Linked DNA regions of Homo sapiens: region 1 is linked to region 2. Evidence: promoter capture Hi-C in human tissues and cell types (Jung and others, 2019). All regions are on one chromosome and are shown on one strand. The core of a region is centred on a gene start or on the middle of the fragment in contact, and the rest is flanking DNA. Distances in the headings are between cores, read along the strand shown.

Region 1 (6,938 bases), core at 159-2,658, 540 kb before region 2:
TTGGGATTACAGGTGTGAGCCACTGTGCCCAGTCTAGTAATCTTTCTTATTTCATTAGGAAATTTGCAATGTTGTTAGCATTCTCCCACAAAATATGATCTGATGTAGCTGTTTTTAGAATTTAGAAGGGATTAAAAAACAGAGGTCAATAATTTTGCTTTATTTTATTTCTCTTAATTTAATATTAATATCAGTAATTGTATAAAGTATATTGATATGTATCTTTAATAACTGTTACTAAAAGGAAAACTATTTTTCAGTATAAATAAAGACAGCTACATTTATAGTATCTACTTTGTAGTAGGACTATATTAGTTCATACACACACACACTCACACACACACAGATGATCCTTGACTTATAATGGGGTTATGTCTTGCTAAACTCATTGTAAATTGAAAATATCATAAGTAAAAAATGCATTTAATATCTGATTAAATGGATCGTAAAGTAAAAGAAACGTACGTTGAAACATTGCAAGTTGGGGCTATATGTTATCGTCTTTATTTTACAGGTGAGGAAACTGAGGGGGTCTATACATTAACTATAGTGGGTCTTTACTTGAAAAAACTGAAGAAAAATAAAGCTTATCTAAGTTGGCTAAGGTCACATGGCTACTTAGGGGTAGAGCTAGGATTCTCACCCTCTAATCACACAATTGTGAAATTCAGGACACATAAGAACTCTGGTTTTTTCATTCAGAAGTACATAGCTTTTGTTTATGGCACATATCTGATATTTGTAGTTTTTTTCTCAAGTAATATATGTATTTTATTAGCAGACCTCAGTAATATTGATAGAAAAGTAGAGTATAAAGTCCTATTCAGTTTCCTCAGTTAATTTTATGGTTTTAGAGAAACCAACATCAGCTAGTTTTAAGGACAGTAGGTATTAGGGTAAATTTTAAATTTAAAAAAATGTGTACTTTCTATGAAGGATTAGAACAATTTTATTTAATGAGGAATTTTACTTAATTTTCAGTTAGCAACTTTCAATTTAACTGTGTTAAAAGCTTTCAGTTAGCATCCCAATTATTTTATCAAGGAATTTTTTTCTTTTTCCCTTTAAGATGAAAATTATGGTAGTATATGACATTTGGAAGGGAGAAAATAAGTATATATTTGAAAAATAATTGAATAGTGGTCATGTGTTAATACTTGTTAGATGCTGCAAGTAAAGTATTCAGAAACTAGTACTTATAAAGTTTATAATTGAGGCTGGAAGACAGCTAATTAAAAAAATGTACCCAGACATATAATATAGCAATGCCAGTAAAATGCCATTACTAGACGTTCAAGGAGAGGTGTATAGTTTTAACTTGGAAAAGGAGAATCAGAGAAAGTTTTCTAAAGGCATTAGCCTTTGAATTAGGCTTTAAGAATGAGTAGGAATTAGCTAAATGATAGAAATGACTTATATTCTATAAGGTAGAGGGATTATTGGGCACATGGTCAGTGTTTCATTTTAGAACTAACTCTCTGGCAGTGGAGTACAGGTGGATGGGTATTGGGGGAGCAAGAGAGAAGAGAAAATATTGTTTAGGTTGGAAGTAAAGAGATCTGTTAGGATTCTGGGGCAGTAGCATAGATGAACAATAATGGAACCTGAAATAAAATATTTGCAACGATGATAAAGAGAAATTAATGAGTTCCAGCAATAATTTTAGCAGCAAATTGATAGTATTTGATGACTAATGTATGTAATACAAAAATATGAATAAATCTAAGATGTCTCAAGGTTTTGGTTTTGAGGACTAGGTAAATGGTGGTGCCAATAACCCAGTGTATTAGTCTGTTTTCACACTGCTAATAAAGACCTACTCAAGACTGGGTAATTTATACAGAAAAGAGGTTTAATTGACTTACAGTTTCACAAGACTGGGGAGGCCTCAGGAAACTTAGTCATGGCAGAAGGGGAAGCAAACATGACCTTCTTCACATGGCGGCAGGAGAGAGAAATGAGAGCCTAACAAAGGGGGAAATCCCTTATAAAACCGTCAGATCTTGTGAGAACTTACTATCATGAGACTAGCATGGGGGAAACCACGTCCATGATTTGATTACTTCCCACCAGGTCCCTCCCATGACACATGGGAACTACAATTCAAGATAAGATTTGGGTACAGACACAGCCAAACCATATCACCCAGTTAAGGAGAACAGGGGAGGTTGAGCTACCAGATGAGGTTTAGGAAATGGAGTCAAAGTAAACGGAACAAGATTAGGTAAGGTTAAGAGAATGAGGTTGATTGAAGTTGTGAGGACAAGGTCAGTTGAAGTCAAGGGAATGAGGTTAAAAGAAGGAGGATGGTTAAGGTCTGTAGGAGGAAGATGAGAGGACATGGTTGAGGTGAGAAGGATCAGAAGACAAGGCTTATGACATTTAGAGGCCGAGGTTGGTTGATGATGTTGAAAAGTCAAACTCAGGTGATCAAGAGTCAGTGTTTGGGTGAGGTTGAGTTCCAGTTAGGTAGAGAGGATGAGGTAATGTTGAGAGGAGTTAAGAGGTTGAGTTTTGTTCTTCAGGATTGAAAGGATAAGATTGTTTGAGGCTGATAGTGGTTGCATGGGTTGAGAGATTGAGGTTAGGGTGGTCAAGAGGGTAAATTGCTGAGGTCAAGGGGGGTTGACACTGTGGTCTAAAGGAACAAATTGGATCAAGAGAGGATGGGTTCAGTTGAGAAGTTTGGAAAAGGATGTAGAAAGCACAATATGGATTTGGGGTGACCAACCGTCATTGTTTGCTTGAGACAGTCCTGATTTTTGTACTGAAAGTTTGGCATCCCAGGAAAAAAAAATCTTGCTTCTCAGTAATGGATGTGCAAAGTTCATGGGAAAGTATAAGCCTAAAAAAGTAAGGGCTGGAAGCAACAGCTTTCAAGTTTTAGAAAATGATTTGGAATAGTTTATCTGCTGTCCCTAGTGGCTGTTGCTGTTTTTTTCTCATGAGTGCTGATTCTAACCACCAAGGATCCACAATAATGGGTCATACATTGTTGGATCACACCAAAAGATGTGATTTAAGTGTGCAATATAAGTACATTGCAATTGCGAGCAGTAAGTCTTCGACTTTGCCTGCCTGTTGTGCTTTGTAACAGATGGTGTTAATTTTTAACATTATAAATATTGTGACCGTGTTTTCTAAGATTAGATAATGAAAATGAGAACAATTATAATATCAGTGCCAGTATGATTCAGACATCACTGAAAAGGAAAGCTAAATGACTCTGTTACTTTAATGACATATGGAAGGACACATACAACTGGATTAAGGAGTTAAATAACCAAAACGGAGCATACTGCACAATACGCAAACAAGAAATTAGATTGGGCATGGTGGAGACAGGAATGTGAAAACAGATATGAAGACTGAATCTCACAGGTCCACGATGAGGCAGGCAAGTACTTATAAATCAATCATAAGTTTACTCATCTCCCCAAAATACAACACTATACTCAGTCTAAAATAGAGCTGCTGAGTTAGCTTGTGTATACCATACCAGTGAGAACATGCATTATCATATTGTTCTCTTGATTGCTCTATGAAACTGACTAAAGTGACATTTTTCTGATTCAGAGGTTAGAACTACTAAAATATCCTATGGGTGAACAAAAGGGGGACTGGTACCAGGTTTGTTGACCTCCTATGTATACTGTTAAATTTTACCAAGGATCGTGCTTTCTATAGTATATCAATGCTAAACAGAAAAATGGCACCAAGAAATGTCCACCTTAGCTCTTAGGTACTTGATTTAGAAAAAATTGACTTTCAAATTATCTTCTGGGGCCGGGCATGGTGGTTCACATGTGTTAATCCCAGCACTTTGGGAGGCCAAGGTTGGTGGATCACTTGAATCAGGAGTTCAGGACCAGCCTGGGCAATATGGTGAAGCCTCATCTCTGCAAAAAATGAAAAAAGTAGCCAGGCGTGGTGGTGCGTGCCCGCAGTCCCAGCTACTCGGAGGCTGATCTGGGAGGATTGATTTAGCTCAGGAGTTTGAGACTGCAGTGAGCTGTGATCGTGCCATTGCACTCCAGCCTGGGTGACAGAGCGAGACCCTGTCTCAAAAAAACAAGAGACCCAAAAAGCCAAATTATCTTCTGATTTCTTTGAAGATTTTAATGAAACCACAGAAAATGTAAAACCAAAAATTGTTCATTATCTTGTCAGTTGTTGCTTTTGCCGAGTTTTCTTTATGGGATACCAATCAGATGTGTGTTATATTCTTCATGCCCAACATTTCTATTATGATTTTTCAATGTTTTGTTTTCCCCTCATTTTTTTTTTGTACTTTATTTTGTATATTTTCTATTGTGTTATCTTCTAGTCACTAAACCTCTTTTTTGCTGTGTTCAATCTCCACATGAAGCCATCCCTTGATTTAGTGATTTCAGTTACTATATTTTTTAGTTTTAAAATGCATTTAATTCTTTATTACACATTCTAGTAGTCTGGAGAAATCTTCTATGATGCCATATTTTAATCTATTTTTTCCTTTGATATCTTGAACATATACAAATTATTGTTACTTAAAAGGCCTGTCTCCAACATAAGGATCACTATAGATCTGCTTTATTTTTCTCTTGTTTTTTCAGTTATATGATTCTATCTTTAAACATGCCTCATAATTTTTAAATTAAATACTAGACATTATTTATAAACAATTATAGAGGTTCCAGATGGTATTGTTTTCTTCCATAAAAGGCTTATCCTTTTTTCTGCAATGCAGATAGATTGAGGGCTGCTCCATCTTACTATCATCCAGGAGTGAGCCAGGTCCTGGCTTGACTTCAGTTAATTAAGACTTAGGCTATCCTCTCTGTTTCTTCACTATTCCTAGCCCCCAATCTGTCTGTATTGCAGAAAAAAGGATAAGCCTTTCCTGGAGGAAAACAATATCATCTGGAACCTCTATAGTTGTTTATAAATAATGTCCATGGACCTACATGGCTTTAAATTGATACTCCAGGAAATTCTGCTCTACTTTTCAGAGAATTTTCAACCTAGTGGTATACTTCTATCTTATGCAGTTCTAGAATTTCAAAACTGTTGCATGTTTTGATCTCTACTTTTTGTCATTATAGCCCTGTGTGGTGGTTTCTGTGACCTCCAGTAGCAGCCATCTGCCTGGTTTCAAACCTTTGTTCTTATCCTATGGGTTTACCAGGTGTGTCAAGGGTTTCCAGGGAAAAAATGGGCTTTCAACTCTAAGCTCTTTTGGAACCCTTCCTTTAGTGGGTCTTTATCTCTTAAACTCCAAGAGACTGCAGTAATAGCATTTTTTGGTTGATTATTTTGTTTTGCAAATTACTTTGACATTATTGGATAAATTTTAGATTATTGGATAAATTTTGTACAGAAAATAAAGATACAGGAAGAAAGTTTATCAAAGCATTATACAATAGAGTAGCATCTTAGGTAGAGGTTTGATTTTAATGTATGCTGGTAAGGCAGAAATTTCACACAATCAAAATTAGCACTAAAAATTTCTTTTAAATCACACAAAGTACAGATATATCTCTCAATAATACAGTCAGTTCCTCGTGCCCACCAACAGTAGGTCATTTGCTGTTTTCTTAGTTGAAAGCATATGAGGAAGTTAACTTGTATTGTAGGTTTGTGTTTTATCCCTTTTACATACATGCAATTATTAATATAGTAATTCATTATTTTATTTTTATTTATCTAAGTTGTTTTGTTGTGAAACACAATACAGAAACCAAGGAGTATATTGAACATACATGTACAATTTAATAAATTATCATAAACTGAAAACCCAAGTAACCACCATCTGTGTCAAAAAGTAAAAATTGTTAAGCATTCCAGACCCATTCTGTGTGCTGCTTCCTAATCTCTCCTCCTGCCGCTCCATGTCTTCCTCTTGGCCCTAGCATAAACACTACTGCGCTTTTTTGTTTTTGTTTTTGTTTTTTGTTTTTTTGAGACGAAGTCTCACTCTGTGGTCCAGGCTGGAGTTCAGTGGTGCAATCTTGGCTCACTGCAACTTCCGCCTCCTGGGTTCAAGCGATTCTCCTGCCTCAGCCTCCCGAGTAGCTGGGACTACAGGTGCATGCTACCACGCCCGGCTAATTTTTTGTATTTTTAGTAGAGACAGGGTTTCACTGTGTTAGCCAAGATGGTCTTGATCTCCTGACCTCATGATCCACCTGCCTTGGCCTCCCAAAGTGCTGGGATTACAGACATGAGCCACCACACCTGGCCCTACTGTGCTTTTTATAGTAATTACTTCCTTGGTTTTACCATTTTAGAATACATCCCAAAACCTTTGATTAATTTTCTTTGTTTTGAATTTTATATCAGTGGAATTATATATATTCTTTTGTGCTGACTTCTTTTATTCAATATTATATATGTGAAATTCATTTGTGCTTCAAATCTAAGTCAGGGATCAGCAAGCTTTTCCTGTAAAGAGCCAGATAGTAAATTTGAACTTCTGCATTTACTCAAGTTTGCTGTTGTAGTACAAAAGGCAGTCATAGACAAAGGTAAACAAATGAACATAGCTATGTTCATGTTTCCATTTTTATTTGTTTCCATAAATTTTAAAAATTTGGTCCTTTTTTTTTTTTTTTAACTCTTTGGTCATTCAGGAGCGTTGTGTATAATTTCCATGTATTTGTACAGCTTCCAAAGCTCCTCTTGTTATTGATTGCTATTTTTATTCTGTTTTGGTCAGAGTAGACACTTGATATGATTGATACTTTTTTGAATTTGTTGAGACTTTGTGGCCTAACATATGGTCTATCCTGGAGAATATTCCATGTGCTGATGAGAAAAAGTGTATTCTGCAGCAGTCTGATGACACATTCTGTAAATTTGTCTTAGGTCCATTTGGTCTAGGGTAGAGTTTAACTTTAATGTGTCTTTGTTGATTTTGTACCTAGATGATCTGTCCATTGCCAAAAGTAGGTTGTTGA
Region 2 (7,151 bases), core at 449-2,948:
GACCATCAGGTCCCTGAGAACAGGAACATGAATTATATAGTTTTTTTTATTTATTTATTTTTATTTTTTTTGCCTCCCATGGTGCCTGGTACTCAGTTAGTGATCAATAATTCTCCCCTAGCAACTCTGTTCCCTTCTGATTAGCCCCAGGGAGAGGAAGCAGCCTCCTCTGAGACTCAACCCTACCCTGTGGGAACGCTCAGTCCAGGCATCACATCCAGTGCCCAGTCCTCTGCCTGCCCTCCCTTTGATACCAGCCCAACTCAAGCACCAGGAAATCATTAGCAGAGACTCTCAAAGGAAAAGAGGCTTCAAGTTCATGTCACCCAGGGCCACAGTATACGGCCCCGCAGGCTGCCCACCGCGCAAGCCCAGGGAGCAGCCTTTTCATGGATATGATGCAATATGTATGGATCCTGCCATCCAACCCTTATCCAAGCAGGATTCCAGAGGCCTCAAGGCCATTCTTGGAGAGCTCTCATTTTCAGGTGGTTCCTTGCACCAAGCCAAAATCTGTCCCCACCTCCACCCAACAGTGGTTCACACCCTGGTCCCTATTCTGCCCTCTGGAGTCCTACATACAAAGCCTAATCACCTGTTTCAGACCCCACCCAGGCCTCCTAGGTTCCAACCAAGCCAAGAAGCAATTGTGTTTCTGAAGGAGACCCCTCCTCCCTTGTCCCACCTCTGCAGTGGGGATAGATGGAAAGAGCAAGGCCTAGGATAACCTCACACACTAGGTGGCCCCGCCCCTGGCATGCCCACCTCTCTCTGCTTCTGCTCCACGCCCCAAGCCTGGCTCCCAGCCTGAAACACACAGGCCCAGTGCAAAAGTAAAGCAATCAGGAAGTCAGGAAGAAAAGACTGCATTCCTGCTTCCTTCTCAGCAAGTTTTGCAAGCAATGGGCCTCCTCGGGCACAAAGCAATCTCCACAGCCAGGGTTCTCTCAGGTTGCTTTTCGGGGAAAGAGCCTCCAAGCTTCCTGAGAGCCCACCCACCATCCCAGCTGGTTATTCCCTCTGATGGTAAGCATTCCAGGTAGTGTGGAGCAGCCACCACCAGTATTCCTCCCTGGGACTCATACAGTCCCAGTTTGGGGATAAAACAAACATTTCCCCAGAACAGGCAGGGAGGATACTGGCATCCTCTCAGCTCCCAGGAAAAGGGTCATGGACACATCCCCTCCTGGAGGCCAGTGACATTGCCTGTCCCACACCCCCTTGGACTATGCTACCTGTATCTAGGAACCAAAGGCAACACCCAGCTCCTTTCACTCTCATGGGTTCTGGGGACAAATGATAACCCACTGGACATGGGGAGGGCACCTTCCCCCAACCAAGAAACTAAGGAATCAAGAGCGGAGCTGGGAAAAGGAGCTGCAGGGAAGGAGATGGGCTGGACCTAGATTCAGGTGGGCCCTGGGCAGGTCCCCAGTAACTGAATGAATGCCCATGAGGCACACTCAGTGGAGGGCAAAGGGGAGAAATAAGCCCAGAAGCAGCAAAGTGACAAGGGAGGAGTACAAGTAGCACCCAGGAATCCAGCAGAGGTCAGGGAGCTTGGGAGAGCTAGGGCAGGCAGATAAGGTTCTGGGCTGTTCCTCTTTGGGGCGACAGCCAGAGAAATAGCTCAGATAGTTGCATAACCCTTCTATTTGCCCAGAGCTTTTGTCCAGAAACTCTCTGTCCTGAGAGGTGATTAAAGAAGGCATCCAGCAAGAACTGCACAAGAAACGGAGTCAGCCGGAGAACAAGGAGTGGTCTTCCACTGCCTCACAGGAGGATGGAGGCCCACAACGCGTCTGCCCCATTCAACTTCACCCTGCCACCCAACTTTGGCAAGCGCCCCACAGACCTGGCACTGAGCGTCATCCTGGTGTTCATGTTGTTCTTCATCATGCTCTCGCTGGGCTGCACCATGGAGTTCAGCAAGATCAAGGCTCACTTATGGAAGCCTAAAGGGCTGGCCATCGCCCTGGTGGCACAGTATGGCATCATGCCCCTCACGGCCTTTGTGCTGGGCAAGGTCTTCCGGCTGAAGAACATTGAGGCACTGGCCATCTTGGTCTGTGGCTGCTCACCTGGAGGGAACCTGTCCAATGTCTTCAGTCTGGCCATGAAGGGGGACATGAACCTCAGGTAGGCCTGGGGGTGAGGAGGGAACAGCCTGGGACAGGAGCTACATTAGATATGTCACAATTGAGGGGAAGAGCTGGGCTAAAGCCAGGAAAAGGAGTGAATGCAGGCTGGGTGGAGGCTAGGGCAGGGGAAGTCTGGCATTTATTGCCAAGAGCTTATGCTGGGATGGGGGCAGGAGTTGGGGTACGTCTGGTTTAGGCACCAAGCCAAAGGGACCATACTGGTCCAGGAAGCTCGTGGTGATCTCCTTGCTTCCAGAGGTGTCTCAAGGATTGTCTTAAAGGAGCACTGATTAAAGCCAAAGGAACCTCTGGAGAACTGCATCCACCTACAACAGTGGACAAGTTGCCTGCTTTGAGCCCAGAGATTTAAAAGGTAGTGTGATTCGTTCCAAACATCATCAGGGAGATCAAGGTGACTTGGAACCAAATGAGCACCTCAAATTCCTGCAAAGCGGGCAAGAATTTCCAAAAGGTCCTCCCAATTACCTGGTCATCTAAGATGTTTTCTCTTTAAAGTCCCTCATTCCCCATCAGATGCAATGACATTTCCATGCAAAGGCACAACCAGGGAGATCCTAGAGTTTCCCAGCACCCACTCCAGATAGGCCAGCCCCATCTCAGCCACCCTGATAAGGGGAAGACAGCAGCACCCCCTAACCCCCTGCCCAAAGCATTATAAGCAGAAATCAGCAAGGGCTCGCTCCTGGAGACGCAGCACACAGGGGCTGGTTGATGCTCATCCTTCCAAACTGGGGAGACTCTAGTCTTGAACATCTGCCAGAGGAGCTACTTCAGACCTGCTCCAGCTCCAGCAGCCTGTGCTGAAGCTAAAGAAAACTCACTAGCAGAAGCTCTTGCTTTCAGTGAAACCTCAGTCTCAAGCCAGTCCCCCCTGGTTTAGTCCTCCGTGGAGACGCTATTCAATGCCAGGTATAGCAGCAGAACCCAGAAAGTCCATCTGCTTGTGTCTGTCAGCACCCTACTCCTAGCCAAACTTTCCTAGGAAAACTAACCCAGTCAAGAAGCCCCTCCTAGTGATGCAAAATGACACTGGGACAGATTTTTTAAATGAAAAAAGTGAGAATGGCTGGGCACGGTGGCTCACACCTATAATCCCAGCACTTTGGGAGGCCAAGGCAGGAAGATCACTTGAGACCAGGAGTTTAAGACCAACCTGGGCAACATAGCAAAACCCTGTGTCTACAAATATATACATATATATTTAATTAGCCAGGCATAGTGGCACATGCCTGTAGTCCCAGCTACTTGGGAGGCTGAGATGAGAGGATCTTTGAGCCTACGAGTTCAAGGCTACAGTGAGTCATGATCACACCACTGCACTCCAGCCTGGGCAACAGAGTGAGACCCTGTCTCTCTCTCAAAAAAAAAAAAAAAAAGGAAATAAAAAAGTGAGAGTGAATGAGAGTTGGGGTTTAACAGGATCTGCCATCTGAGAAGCTCTGGGCTCTTTTTCCATATGATTCAGCCCTCACTTTAGTAGTCAATGGGAAGAGAGGCACAAAGAGGGCATTTGGCTTGTGCCATCACCCACGGAAAGGTATTTCAATGTTCAACTACCTCACTGTGAGAAAATGCTTTCCTCTGTCTAATCCACATCCTCTCTGCTACAAAGCAAGCCCTTGGTCTTGGATCTGGCTTCTGGACAAGGCTCATGGCAGCCTGTGTGTCCCAAGAATCCTAGAGTATATCTGAATTTTGGTGTATGAGGGATGCAGAAGTCAGGGGCCTGCGAAGGGGTACTCTGAGGGCTTTGTGTTTCTGTGGAAGAAGCAGAGCAGGGGACGTGGAAGGCAACTGTGCTTTTAAGTGTGAGTGGCCAGATGTCCCAGCCCCATCGCCAGTGGCCACTATTGAGGCCTCTGCCACAATGCCTACATTGCTGTGGCTCTAGGCCCCACCCAGGCAGAGCCTCTGGTGACTCAAGAACATGACCCCTCATGCTCTCCTGCTCAACCTCCTTGTCCAGACCCCTGATGACTGTCATTTTTACCTAGACCCCCACAAGAGATAAGCTCTGCTGGGACAGCCACCTTCTGCCATAAAACTCCTTCCCAACAAACAACCCTCCCATGCACATTAAACCATGTCTCAGATCCCACTGTCGGAATGGGAATCTGGTCATCTACCTTCATGTGCTGCCAGACTTCAAATCCCATTCCAATTTGGGACAACTTGTTACATGCATTATAATAATGACAACGATTATAAGAAACAGCCAGGCACAGTGCTAAACACCTTACCTGGATAAGTATATGTGATCCTCCTACAGCACCCTGGGGGACAGCATGTAACAAGTAGCATTTAGAGGTAAGGAAACTGAATCTTAGAGAGGTCAATACATTGGCTCCAGGTCTGGGTGGCTCCGGAACCTGTGCTTTTACTGAAATATCTTCCAGGTCAGCATTTCCACAAACAAAATGGCCAGACAGCCTCAAAGGCATGGGCAGACACCCGTGTCTCAGCAGCAAGTATTGTGTGGGAGCCAGAGCTTCCCACTTTTCAAAAGAAGGTAAAATATCCATTTTATGTGAAATCAGCAACTCATTCCATTTTTTTAAATGTGCAAACCAAACAATACATGTCAAAGGGCCAGCTGTAGCCCAAAGGCCCCAGTTTGAGATAAGCACAATACTCTACATCCCATTTAGAACTGGAAGGAATTGTAAGACACAGATCCCATTTTACACATGAAGAGGCTGAGGTCAGAGACTTGCCAGAGGTTTCCCAGAGTTTGTGGGAAACTGTGTCTCCCTCCACTCACTCTGCCTCATAGGTGGAGTCAGTCTGGGGACAGCCTGCCATCCCAGGAGGCCAGGCCACCAAGCAGACCCCTCAATGCAGCCAGGGACGGCAGCTCCCTCCTCAAGGAAGGCCACTAGACAAGTTTCAAAAAATGTAGGTGACAAACAGGCAAGAGAAAACGCCCTCACAGTTGAAGTGAGTATGGCTTGTCAGGCACAGAGAAGAGAGTGCTATGCCAGCAGGAACTGGCCTCTTTTGACCATCCTTGCTGCCCCAAGTTCATCTGCTCCCCCTGCCACCATCGGACTCACAGCAGAGCCCAGAGCCAATGGCCATGGGGACAATGGGCTTGGACACAACCCAAGCACTTCCACAGGTCTCCCAGCCATGATGTAGGAAGCTCAACCAGGACAAGATGGAAGCCACTGGGGTCCCAGAAGTTTTCCACTTCATAGAGACTGTGTTGAGGCCCCTCACAGCTCCCTCAGCTTCTGCCTCCAATCTGTGCATTGACGGACACTCGAACGAGTCCCTTAAATGGGGTACACAGATGTCCAAAAGCAAGGTCTATGCTGTGCTCTTGGAACTTAAGCAGGAGGGAAAAATAAAAAAAACAAATGTGCCCCTTTCCCCCTGAAAGGCAACCAGGCCTACAATCTCAGGAATCTAGAGTCTGAAAAAGTCCTTGCCCGTCCCTGTCCCTTGGGGTAAACCAAGGATCACAACAGTCACGGATGCCAGCAGGCTAGGAGATGGATGTCCCTGACCTGACCCCAGGACCTGTGCAAGTGGAGGAAGTACCTGGGGATCAGGGAACATGGCTCCTGCATACCCAAGCTGACAAGGCACACCAAGTCCAAACTCCAAAACTCCTGACACACAAGCCAAAGTAAGCATGATTCCTCTGCTCTAGGTCACCAGAACAAACACACAAGTTGTGTTTGGCTTTTCCCTAAGAGAAGATCAACAGTAGCATTGAAACCCCCTGTATTCCTATTCCCAATCTCATTACCCTCCACCACTTGCCAAAGGGAGCATCCCTGGGAATTTGGTGTTCAGCATTTCCACCGACCCTTTTCAACTATTATATACGTATATATTCATAAACAAGATAGACTGCGGGATTTACGTCTTTTAATTTTGTACGAACAGTATTATACTGTCCACATCACCTAACAGCTTGCTTTTTTTTTTTTTTTTTGAGAAATAGGCATGTAAAGAAAATAGCTACCTCATGTATCTGAACTGCTGTGCAGTTTGCTTGCATTTATCCATTCTCCTGTTGTCAGATTCATGTGGATTTTACGTCTCGCTTCTGTGAACAGACTTGTGTGTGTCCCTCTGCCCACATGAGGGCATATGCAATTGAAGCAGGACTGCTGGGTCGTGGGAGTCACACATCTTTAAGAGGTCTCCAAGGTCATTGTTCACTTCACACGTTCCCTAGCAGTGTCTGAAGATCCCTGTTTCTCTGTGCCTTCATCTATATTTGGAATTGTCAGACTTTTTAATTTTTTCCAAATGAAAACAGTGAAGCAGATCGCAGTAGTTTTAAATTTGATTTCATGGGAGGCCTACCACATTTCCACGTGTGCGTTGGCCATTCATGTGTCCTCTTCTGGAAACATTGGGTCCTTTGCCTGTTTTTCTATGGGATTGTGGTTTGGGTGGGTTTTGAAAATTAATTTCTAAAGTTATTGTTTTATATATGTTGCAACAGTCTATTCACAGTTTGGAGCTGGTCTTTACACTTTGATAATAATGTCTGATAGATTGCTTATGTTAATTTAGTCAAATTTGCCAATATTTTTCCTTTGTGGTTTATGTTTTTTAGGGGTTTCTTTAAGAAATCTTTTACTATCTACAAGCCTGTCCAACATGGCAAAACCCCGTCTCTACTAAAAAATACAAAAAAATTAGCTGGGCATGGTGATGTGCACCTGTAATCCCAGCTACTCAGGAGGCTGAGGCATGAGAATCACTTGAACCCAGGAGGCAGAGGTTGCAGTGAGCCAAAATCATGCCACTGCACTCCAGCCTGGGCGACAGAGCAACACCCTGTCTCAAAAAAAAAAAAAAAATTTACTGTCTACAAAGTTACAAAGATATTACCCTGTATTTTCTTTGAAAAGTTTTAAATGTTTGATTTTCACATGGAGAGCTCCAATCAATGTAGAACTTATTTTTATGTATGGCATGAACTAATTTTATCTTTTCCATACAAATAGAAGATTCCAAGCCACGTTG

What was found. Contacts are between HindIII fragments. The study calls those that stand out against the background at their distance.
Region 1: a contact is called between a fragment that was not itself captured here and the fragment with the promoter of SLC10A1 in region 2, in 1 of the 25 tissues and cell types used here (dorsolateral prefrontal cortex).

The regions. Positions count from the first base shown.
Region 1 is chr14:70,335,259-70,342,196 of GRCh38, reverse strand. The region is part of intron 3 of SYNJ2BP-COX16 (SYNJ2BP-COX16 readthrough); the gene reads left to right. All of the region lies in intron 2 of COX16 (cytochrome c oxidase assembly factor COX16), which reads left to right. Among named protein-coding and RNA genes, the nearest start is that of COX16, 21 kb to the left of the region's middle. The HindIII fragment of the contact is 4,614 bases long and covers 1-3,715 here.
Region 2 is chr14:69,791,788-69,798,938 of GRCh38, reverse strand. It overlaps SLC10A1 (solute carrier family 10 member 1), which reads left to right and starts at 1,698. Exons shown (of 5, transcript NM_003049.4): 1 at 1,698-2,139. The coding sequence starts at 1,784. RefSeq lists an enhancer at 5,633-5,927. The HindIII fragment of the contact is 13,632 bases long and covers 1-7,151 here.